2 separate regions of the Homo sapiens genome follow, and region 2 is linked to region 1. The links are contacts of gene promoters, found by promoter capture Hi-C in blood cells and fetal thymus (Javierre and others, 2016). All regions are on one chromosome and are shown on one strand. The core of a region is centred on a gene start or on the middle of the fragment in contact, and the rest is flanking DNA. Distances in the headings are between cores, read along the strand shown. Region 1 holds the start of GNG10 (G protein subunit gamma 10). Region 2 overlaps KIAA1958.

What was found. Contacts are between HindIII fragments. The CHiCAGO score rates a contact against its expected background, and 5 or more counts as called.
Region 2: a contact is called between a fragment that was not itself captured here and the fragment with the promoter of GNG10 in region 1, in 1 of 17 cell types (total B cells). The highest score is 5.3, in total B cells.

The regions. Positions count from the first base shown.
Region 1 is chr9:111,660,022-111,665,435 of GRCh38, forward strand. GNG10 (G protein subunit gamma 10) reads left to right here and starts at 1,584. Exons shown (of 3, transcript NM_001017998.4): 1 at 1,584-1,694. The coding sequence starts at 1,614. All of the region lies in intron 1 of DNAJC25-GNG10 (DNAJC25-GNG10 readthrough), which reads left to right. RefSeq lists enhancers at 1,165-1,224, 2,295-2,394, 2,595-2,644 and silencers at 1,405-1,854, 1,885-2,004. The HindIII fragment of the contact is 12,879 bases long and covers 1-4,197 here.
Region 2 is chr9:112,503,223-112,508,281 of GRCh38, forward strand. The region is part of intron 1 of KIAA1958; the gene reads left to right. Among named protein-coding and RNA genes, the nearest start is that of HSDL2-AS1, 18 kb to the left of the region's middle. The HindIII fragment of the contact is 583 bases long and covers 2,291-2,873 here.

The sequences.
Region 1 (5,414 bases), core at 334-2,833:
TATGAAATCATTCTATTTTGTCCTATTCATCAGTCTCAGAATTGATTGTTGAATGTTCCCAACATGTACTTTCATCTCTTTACTAAGATATATATTAATTTCTTTGTGGTGAGGAAATTGGCCACTAGAGAGGGCTTTCAAATGTGCAAGTCTCCCTTTGGCCCAGGCACAGCTAATCTGAGCACGTCAATGCCACACATCCTTGCCTTCAAAGAGTAATTGGGCCAGGGGTGGGCCCATGACTTAATACCAGCCAGTGAGGTTCATTATGGGGATTTTTGCTGGAACGATTAGAAAGAAAAGAGGTACTATTTTTCCTGGGTTTGCTAGATGGGGACAGTGAAAGTGTGGTGCCTTCCTTCATACCACTAGAGAAGTCCATCTACCACCAAGGAAAATGAGGCTAATCTCAGGAAAAGCAGAATCAAAACAAGGAGGATGAGAGCCCCAAAATTATTATTTGGGTAATTGAATTCACTAGTTTAAAGTCCCTGGACTTTTCAGTTACACAAGCCAATATATTACCTTTTGCAATATTCAGTTTAAGTGAGTTCTGACAAATACAATGGTGTACAAGAATAATGACGTATTAATGATACATGGAAAAAAGCAACACAAAAATTTTAAATATAGTAACGATCCCAGTTTTGTAAAACACTTATTAAAAAATGCAGTAGGCCTATAATGCCAGCACTTTGGGAGGCTGAGGTGGGAGGATCACCTGAGCCCAGGAGTTCAACACCAGCCTGGCCAACATCGTGAAACCCCGTCTCTACTAAAAATACAAAAATTAGCCGGGCGTGGTGGTGTGTGTCTGTAGTCCCAGCTACTCAGGAGGCTGAGGCAGGAGGATCACCTGAGCCCACGAGGTGGAGGCTACAAGGAGCTGTGATCACGCCACTGCACTCCACCCCGGGTGACAGAGCAAGACCCTGTCTCAAAAAAAAAAAAAAAAAAAAAAAAAGCAGCAGAATAGAAACAATGATGACAGTTAAATGGTGAGATGAGAGTGAGAAACGCTGAATTTAATTTTATTCTGTATGTTTCACAAAGATGTCAGGGTCTGGGATTTTATCCAATTTACCATACTCCACCAAATCAACTGGTAGGATCTCCGTGAAACAGTAACAGGGTCATTTAGAAACCTGTTGCTGCCTCATGAAAATCCTATGAACTCTCCTTGGTTCCCCGGTGATACTGTCTGGCAAGGCCCCTTATCTCTCCAACTCATGTCACACCTTGGCTCCAGTTCTCATTTCTCAGGGGTGCGTGTTTGCTGCCGCCCACTCCATCCTCGCGTCCCACGCCCTCGCGATTCCTGCTCATCCTAGGGGCGCCAGCTTCGCTGGAGGACGCCGCGCTCTGCGGGTCCCCGCCTCGGTTCCAGGCCCAGCTGCAGGTGCCACCCAGGTTTCAGGCGCTGAGGAGCGGAGAGCACTGCCAGCTCGCTGGGGTCCCCGCTGTCTCTGGCAAGCGGCTCCGCGCCGGGTGGGCTGGGGCGGCGGGGCGGGCGCAGCTGCTTCCCCGCCCCGGGGCGGCACCCGCGCTCGGGGCTGGCGGCTCCTCCCCGCCCGGCCGGGCCCAGCAGCCCCTAGGAGCCCAGCGCCGCCGCCATGTCCTCCGGGGCTAGCGCGAGCGCCCTGCAGCGCTTGGTAGAGCAGCTCAAGTTGGAGGCTGGCGTGGAGAGGATCAAGGTGCGGGCCCCGGGTACCCACGCTCCGGTCCTTCCGCCCGCGGGGCGTGAGAAGAGGAGGCCGGCGGCCCGGACCGGGCGCCAGCGGGGGACTCGGTGGCGGCGGCGAGGCCTCGGCGGGGCGCGGGGGCGGTGGGGTCCGCGGTGAGGGAGGGCGCGGGGCAAGCCGGGGGCCCGGGCCTGACGGGAGGAAGCCGCGCCTGGGGGGCCCCGCGGTCGTGGTCGGTCCCGGTCCCTGGGGGTGCGCCCACTCCAGAAGGCGGCCGTGGTCAGTTCCTCGGAGGGCGCAAGGGATGCCGGCGACGCGCGGGCCGGGAGGGTGGACCCAGGGCTGGGGAGGCCACCGCAGGGCGGCGAATTGGTGATGGATTGGTAGGATGAGAGCGAGAGGGAGGAGAGCCAGGATGCTCGGGTTTCTGTCGTCGTGACAGGGTGGACGGCGCTGCCACCCGCCGAGGTAGAGAGGAGGGGGAACAGGTTTGGGGAAATGATGAGTTCGGCTGCGGACCTGGGGACTCCGGGGAGTCATCCGGGAGGTATTTGTCCTCATGGCCTGAAGCTCAGCGCCCAGGGCTGAAAGAGGTCATTCAAGTGCATTGGGGCGAAAAAGCCTCTTCTATGAAGAGCAGAGCTCAGAGCCTGGGACCCGGGGACCAGCCACACCGATGGCCGGTGGCCGAGAGAAGAGGAAATAAGAGACAGCAAGGTTTCCGAGCAAGGCCTAGAGAAGAGGAAATAAGAGACAGCAAGGTTTCCGAGCAAGGAAGTAGGGATTTCCAAAAACTGGGGGCTCAGTCAACATGTCCAGCGTTTAGTCAGTTGGCTAAAAGGCGTCTGTTGTAGAGCTGTGTTTAGCTACGAGTGCAGCATTATTTGCAGAAGATCTGTAAGAAGGAACACAACCAGGATAGTCCCTGTGCCTCAGTTTCTCCTTTGCTGTGTGCCTGGCACTGCTACAGGGAATAGGGTGGTTCTGGAGGGGAAGGTAAACAGCAACTTAACGGATACATAGCATCGCTTCATGTACTAAGTGGAGTGAAGATAATAAACAGGGTAAAGGGAGAGAGGGCTGTGGAATGCAGAGGTCTGGTGGCTTATGTGTTAGTAAAAGCAGAATCTGGACTGTCATAGGGTAGGCAGACGTTTTTTCTTTTTAAAGAAACCTAGTTTTAAAGAGGAAATAACGTGTTTTTTTAACTTAGGAAATGAAAAGCCATGTTTTAGGGTTGAGAGGAAGTAACAAATTATATTTTTAGGTTCCAGGGAAGAAACAAATGGAAGCCAATTGCTGGTAGAGGAGACAGGGCTACGGGGGGGTGGGGGATTGGTGGCACAGCTTCTGAGACAGGAAGAAAGAAGGTAAGGGTGTGTGTAAAGATAAGTTTCTAGATATGGGCTAAACTTGTATGGTGACACTTTTCTTTGTGAAATAGGAGGCCAGGTTTTCTTCTAAGGCAGAGGAAAGGGGACTAAGGGAGTGGCCCCTGAGCAGGCACGCAGATGCGCTGTGACTGAAGACCCAGCTGCTGTGACAAGGGAGACTGCTGGTCATATTTGTGATTTTTTTTTTTTCCTGCAGCAATCTTTACCATCCTGGAATGTGAGTGCTGAAGGTGAACGGTAGTTGAAAGAGGAGTAAGTTAGCAGGGGAGGTATGCCAGAAAGGTGGAGGTGGGGCCGGAGGGCAAGGCGTGTGAAGGTCTGGCCAGAAAGAGGCTGAGCCTAGATGGATAGAGAAGGAATGCAGCCAGCCTCCTGGTGATAGGTGAGACAGAAGGGGAGGAGGTGATGCCTGGTGATCTCGGTGAGGTCAGAGCAGAATAAAGGAAGAATAAAGGAGGCAGCACCCTGGATGGGAAGGAGAGATTGTGATCAGAGAGTAGGATACTGGAGTGTAAAATTTCAGAAGTGGAGCAGTTACAGGTGTTGTAACTGTATCTGTTGGCATTGAGGAGAAGGCTGTTTGAGGGGAAGAAGTCAGGGAACTGAAATGAGGGTTGTTGGAAATTCACAAAGACAATGTGGGGACATGAGGTAGAAAGGAAAACTGTGAGCCAGTCAGATGCCTGTCTACCCGCCAAGTAGCTAAGAAAGAGGAAAGATATTCTTTTTTTTTTTTTTTTGAGATGGAGTTTCATTCTTGTTGCCCAGGTTGGAGTGCAATGGCATGATCTCAGCTCACTGCAACCTCTGCCTCCCAGGTTCAAGCGATTCTCCTGCCTCAGCCTCCCGAGTAGCTGGGATTACGGGCACCTGCCACCACGTCCACTAATTGGCTTTTTTTTTTTTTTTGTATTTTTAGTAGAGATGGAGTTTCACCATATTGGCCAGGCTGGTATCGATCTCCTGACCTCAGGTGATCCTCCCGCCTCAAGCTCCCAAAGTGCTGGGATTACAGGCATGAGCCATGGCACCTGGCCGGAAAGATGTGCTTATCTACCTTTTAAAAATGATGATGAAACTGAGAGCCATATAATTCAGGTGAATTGCCTGAGCTCGCAGTAAGCTTATTTACAAATAGGATAATAAGCCTATTTAAGAGGTGCGCTCATGGAAGTATGATCTGGGGTACTTGGCAGGGCTTCCCTCAGACAATACCTTAGAGAGTCACAACCATTCCAGGGTCTGGTCTACCTCACATCCTCATTCATTGTTGGATGTGCTTAGCATAGCCAGAGGTGTCTTCTCTTTGACAGACTTGCTATCTGAAAAATAAACCAGGACACCAATTTTCTAGCATATAATAGAGGACATCCCTTCCCAGCTATAGGAATGCTTGGTATCCTTCCAAGAACTCCTCCTTTAGAGGAGCCTCACAGAAGTTGCTGGGTAAACATGGGCTCAAACCAAGGAAAGTCAGGTAACCTGGGTGGAGGTTATCCCACCACCAATGGCAGGGGACAGCTTGCAAGTATTTGGGCTTATAGTCTCCCAGCCCACAGCCTCTCTCCCTTGCTAGTGTTAGAGAGATGCTGATCACGTTTACTCTTCTCTTATTTTCTCTGCGTATCCCCTTACCTTAACTTTTTGACCATGTTCTTGAGCCTAGAGTTCAGTTAGTCTCATTTCTCCAGGAGTCCTGGAGACAGTGTCCTTCCACCTACCATGTGTGGAGTTTACCTGCCACCCCAATGCAAAGATAGTAAGCCTGAGCATAATTGATTCTCGATTTCTTTTGAATTAATAACTGGTATATATAACCATTAATTCCAATTATAATTCACATGAAAATGTCAGAGCTTCTATTGAGAGCAAAAGCAAACTTTAGCATTAGCCTGGTAATATTATATTATGGTTTTATATTCATATAATATGGAGTAAACTGTCATTACATTAATGCAACCAAAATTCCTGGAGCTGTCCAGAAACTTGGTAGCAATTGTAACATAAACAGTTAATTTTCCAGTTATTTGGAGGCTTGGAAAATTAACACAAACTAGTAGTAATACCTGAACAGCAATTGGAACCATTTTTGTACAATATGGGTGAATTGTATTCAAAATGCCTTTTAATGCAAAAAAAAAAAGTACAATGAGGAAAACCTCCAAGTAGAAATATGCATCAAATGGAAGATAAGAAAAGGGATAATGATATTGTATCAGTTAGTTTTTGCTGCCTGACAAACCACCCCAAAATTTAGTGGCTTAAAAGATTTATACTCACAGTTCTTAGATGGACAATTTGAGCTAGGTTCAGGTGTACAGTTCTGCTGATCTTCTGG
Region 2 (5,059 bases), core at 1,332-3,831, 840 kb after region 1:
TGACTTTTGAGTAAGCACTTAAAATGAATGAGAGGGCTTGACATTCAGGTATCTGGAGGAAGAGCATTTGAGGCAAAGGGAACGGCAAGCACAAAGGGTCAGTTGGAAATGTGCCCTGATATGTTCTAGGAACAAGAATTTCAAGAGCTGGCTGGTCGCGGTGGCTCACTCCTTTAATCCCAGCACTTTGGCAGGCCGGGGTGGGAGGACTGCTTAAGCCCATAAGTTTGAGACCAGCTGGGAAACAATACTCCTTCTCTACAAAAAATAAAAAAAATTAGCCAAGTGTGGTCGTGCATACCTGTAGTCCCAGCTACTAGGGAGGCTGAGGCTGCAATGAGCTGTGTTCATACCACTGTACTCCAGCCTGGGCAACAGAGCGAGACCCTGTCTCAAAAAAAAAAAAAAAAAAAAGGTCAAGGGCTCCGCTAGAGTGAAGGAGGGGAGAGCTGCAAGGAAAAAGAGTTGCAAGAGTTTGGACAGATAATGCTGGTGGTAGTGGGTAGGGTAGATCATGTAGAACCTTCTGGCAAAATGAAAAATCCCTATTAAAAATTGTTCAAGTAGGAAATAGAATGATTTTTCTCCCTTCCATTTTCCCTCCTTCCCTGATCATGACTGTCATGCAAAGCTATGCATAAGGAAAAGATTGGAAGGAAATACCCTAAAATGCTAACAGTGTTAATGTGCTGGGGTTATAAATTATATATATATATATATATATTTGCCATGCTTTCTATAATTTGGCTATATTTTATAATAAGCATAATTAAAAACGAAGTATTTTGCATATTTCTGTCTTTTAATACCTTAGAAATCAAGTACTTTAGATCTTTCTCAAGTTGATTGTAACCTGGCTTTATTGATGGTGGGCAACAGTGTCTTAAATCATCTAAGGAGTTGTTGGTTTTTTAATTATGTATTAATCTTTCAGGGTTTGAACCAGAAGGAACTGTAGAGATTATCTTTTTTTTTTTTTTTGGAGACAGAGTCTCACTCAATCACCCAGGCTGGAGTGCAGTGGTGCGATCTCGGCTCACGGCAACCTCCACCTCCTGGGCTTAAGCAATTCTCATGCCTCAGCCTCCCGAGTAGCTGGAATTACAGGTGCGTGCCACACTACCCCCAGCTAATTTTTGTATTTTGAGTAGAGACGGGATTTCGCCATGTTGGCCAGGCGGGTCTCGAATTCCTGACCTCAAGTGATCCACCGGCCTCGGCCTCCCGAAGTGCTGGAATTGCAGGCGTGAGCCACCATGCCCTGCCAAGATTAACTATTTTTAATCCCCTTATTTTACAGATGGGGAAATGATCTGGAGGAGTGAAGGAACTCTGGCTTCTAGTTCCTTTCATTGTATGTTTCATCCCCATTTAATCTGAGGTTATCCAGCACTGGAGTGATTTTTGTGATTCATAATTTACCTAATCTTATCATAAAGATAAGATTATGACAAGAAAATCTTTGAAAATGATGAAATCTGAGTCTGTTTTGTCCAAATTTTCTCAGTGCCAAAACCACTATAGCAAATATGATGCCAATAATGAAGTTTTTTATGTATGTATGTGTGTCTATATGTATATATGTGTAGATGTATATACATTTTTTATTTATACAAATTTATGAGGTACATGTAAAATTTTGTTAACATGTGTATAATGCGTAGTGATCAAGTCAGGGTATTTAGCATGTCTATTGCTGGAGTACAATACATTTTTGTTGAAGATAGTCACCCTACTCTGCCATCTAACGTTGAATTTATTCCTTCTATCTTACTCTATGTGTACCCTTTAAATCGGTTATCTTCATCCTCCCCTTGGTCCCCTCACTCAACTTTCCCAGTCTCTGTTATCTGTCTTTCCATTCTCTACCTCCATGTGGTCAAGTTTTTTAGCTTCCATGTATAAGAATATGTGATACTTGTTTTTTTGTGCCTGGCTTTATTTCACTTAAGATAATGACTTCCAGTTTCATCCATGTTACTGAAAATGACCTGATTTTATTCTTCCAATAATGAGTTCTTTAGGCTAGCACCCTGGTTAAGACTAGACTTTGGACTCAGACTGCCTGGCTTTGAATCCTGTTTCTGGCCCTTATTAGTACATAACTTCTCAGTGCTTTAGTTTCCGCGTTTATAAAATGAGTATAATACTAAGTATATAGCCCATGGGGTTGTCGTGAGGATTAGGTAAATTCGTGTGAGTAGAGTGCCAGGCACATAGGTTATATTATTACTGAGGCTTAAATATCTAGAAGAGAGTATATTTGAACGCTAGATAGCAAAGAAAATTAAGCTTAACAAATCCTTGAATTGTATGGTGTGAAGTCTATATGTCTCTATTTTGACTTTGCAGGCAATGTAGTAATTTATTAAGAACATTTTAAAACTAATAACTTTAATTAGCATAGTGGTTTCAAATTGTATGTTGTTGTAGCACCTCACAGATGGTTATCAAATTTTGTTGAAAAGGATGTTTACTTTCATTTCATTCAGAGAAATACTGTGATTTAGGTAAATGGCCTGAGTGGTCAGGTGATGAAAGGTGGGACAGGATGCCTGATGAAAGGCAAAGCACGGGATCCAGGCAGCTGTAGGAAAGATTGCTTGTTTACTGGAGCAGACAGGAACTTTGCTTTGTGAGTGTATAGGTCAGGGCAATAAAAAGTTCGACTTAAGCTGACAAACAGCAGTGAGGGGGGATCAAACAGAGAACGATGCGTATGTATCCCTTTCCTTTGAAATGTGTCACCAAATTCTAGCATTTGAGTGTCCCTTAGTATCAAAGAGACAGAAGACCGCTGAACTCATATAATGGATATAATTAAGAATGAACAAATTGTGTTTCTATAAAGTAATTTTTGAACTATAGGGTAAAGCTTTTGGTAAAATCTGAAGTATGGAGAAAAATGAAATTTATAGAGTACTGTGGCAATTTGTAAAAACAAATGTTAGAGGCCAGGCGCGGTGGCTCACACCTGTAATCCCAGCACTTTGGGAGGCCGAAGCAGGCGGATCACAAGGTCAGGAGATCGAGACCATTCTGGCTAACACGGTGAAACCCCGTCTCTACTAAAAATACAAAAAATTAGCTGGGCGTGTTGGCGGGCGCCTGTAGTCCCAGCTTCTCGGGAGGCTGAGACAGGAGAATGGCATGAACCTGGGAGGCAGAGCTTGCAGTGAGCCGAGATCACGCCACTACACTCTAGCCTGGGTGACAGAGCGAGACTCTGTTTCAAAACAAAACAAAACAAAAAACAAATGTTAGAATGTTTTTTCTTCATGGTAATTAAGGATAATTTTATATGTGTAGTGTGTCCTGATGTGTTACGTGTTTATACATGTTTGTGACTACCTGGGTACTTGGGGGTTGCACAAGGTTCCGTTACTTTTTTTACTGGGAAAAATATGGCCTCTTTTTGCAGTGCTGATATTATTTTCTTTAGTATTAAAATTTCAGAAGTTTTTGCTTGCTCAAGCTACTGCTTTTTTTTTTTTCTTGTAAACACAGCTGGATAAATGCAGATAGAGTCTGCAGTGTTTCTGCCACACTAGCTTTATTAGAAAGTTTTTGCCTTTTTTTGCCGGATCATGGGTTGTGATTTAGGGTTTCTGTGGGCACATTAATTCTGAATAGAACCTGAGATTGTGCTTAACTAGAAGTGTGGTAGTTTTGGTAGTGAGTTCATAACAGGACCCAGGTACTTACATACTCAGTGGTCATTGCTATTGTAGCAATTGTGGTATTTAATTCAACTTGAAGGTCACTTGGAATATTTCTAGGCCATTACATTAGACCTCTGAGAAAAATTTTTTAAGTGCTTCAATATTTATGATTTAGTTAATAGTTAAGCTAAGGACTTTTAGAAGTATTTGTGGGTAGAGGGAAGGAGGCCATACATTTACAGAGACCCTGATAAAGCATGAAATTGTGACACTGAATTTGCCTTTCTTTCCCAACTCCCTGCTGATGCACTAAGCTCTGGTCCAAGGGGTGGCATATGACTCTCAAATAGCCCCTGTATCCTTTGCTAGTCACTCTTTTCAGGGCTTAGGTTGATATATCATATGCATATAAGAATGTTTAGAAAAGATGTGTGGAACTGACTGAGTATTTTAGGTTTTGTTTTTTGTTTTTGTTTCTTTTTAAGAGACAAGTTTTCAGTCTAATCCAGGGTGGAGTGCAGTGGTGTGATCACTGCTCACTGTAACCTTGAACTCCTGGGCTCAAGTTATTCTTTTGCCTTAGTCTCCTGAGTAGCTACCATTATAGGCATGTGCCACTATATCTGGTTAATTTTTTATTTTTTTATAGAGATAGGGCCTCACAATATTGCTCAGGCTGGTTTTGAATTCCTGGCCTCAAGTGATCCTCTTGACTTGGACTCCCAAAGTGCTGGGATTACAGGCCCTGAGCGACTCACTGTGCCTGGCCAGTTTGATTCTTTCGAATGGGAATTTTTGTTTTGTGTGACATCAATCAAACATCTATACCTATAAGATCAAAGTATAACCCTAAAATGCTGTATCTGTTTTTCTTTCTCTCTCTCTCTTTCTTTCTTTCTTTCTTTTTCTTTCTCTTTCTTTCTTTTTTTTGAGAGATGAGGTTTCACTATATTTCCTAGGCTGGTCTTGACTTCCTGGGCTCAAGCAGTCCTCCTGCCTCAGCCTCCCGAAGTGCTGAGATTATAAGTGAGATTCTATCTTTTAGCCTTATGTGGTAATTCTAAATATTTTTGTGGGTTTTTGACCCCTTTGAGAATTGGATAAAATCTTTGGACTCCTTTCTTATTAAATACATATCTATATATACAACCTATAATTTTGTATACATTTTAGGAAATATGTGGACTCTTGGTGGACTATGCAAACAATCTCTGTTTTGTGTATTTACATTTTAGCATATGACTTTCTTTTAAGAATAGAAACCTTAAAGGCTTGAAAAGGATTAGGAGACTGAGCTTCGGAGCTTCCAGGGAAAATTTACTTTTTTGAGAGAGGAGAGATTAACATGCTATTTTTCCATCAGAAATCCATTTAACTTGCTTTTTCAGATAAATACA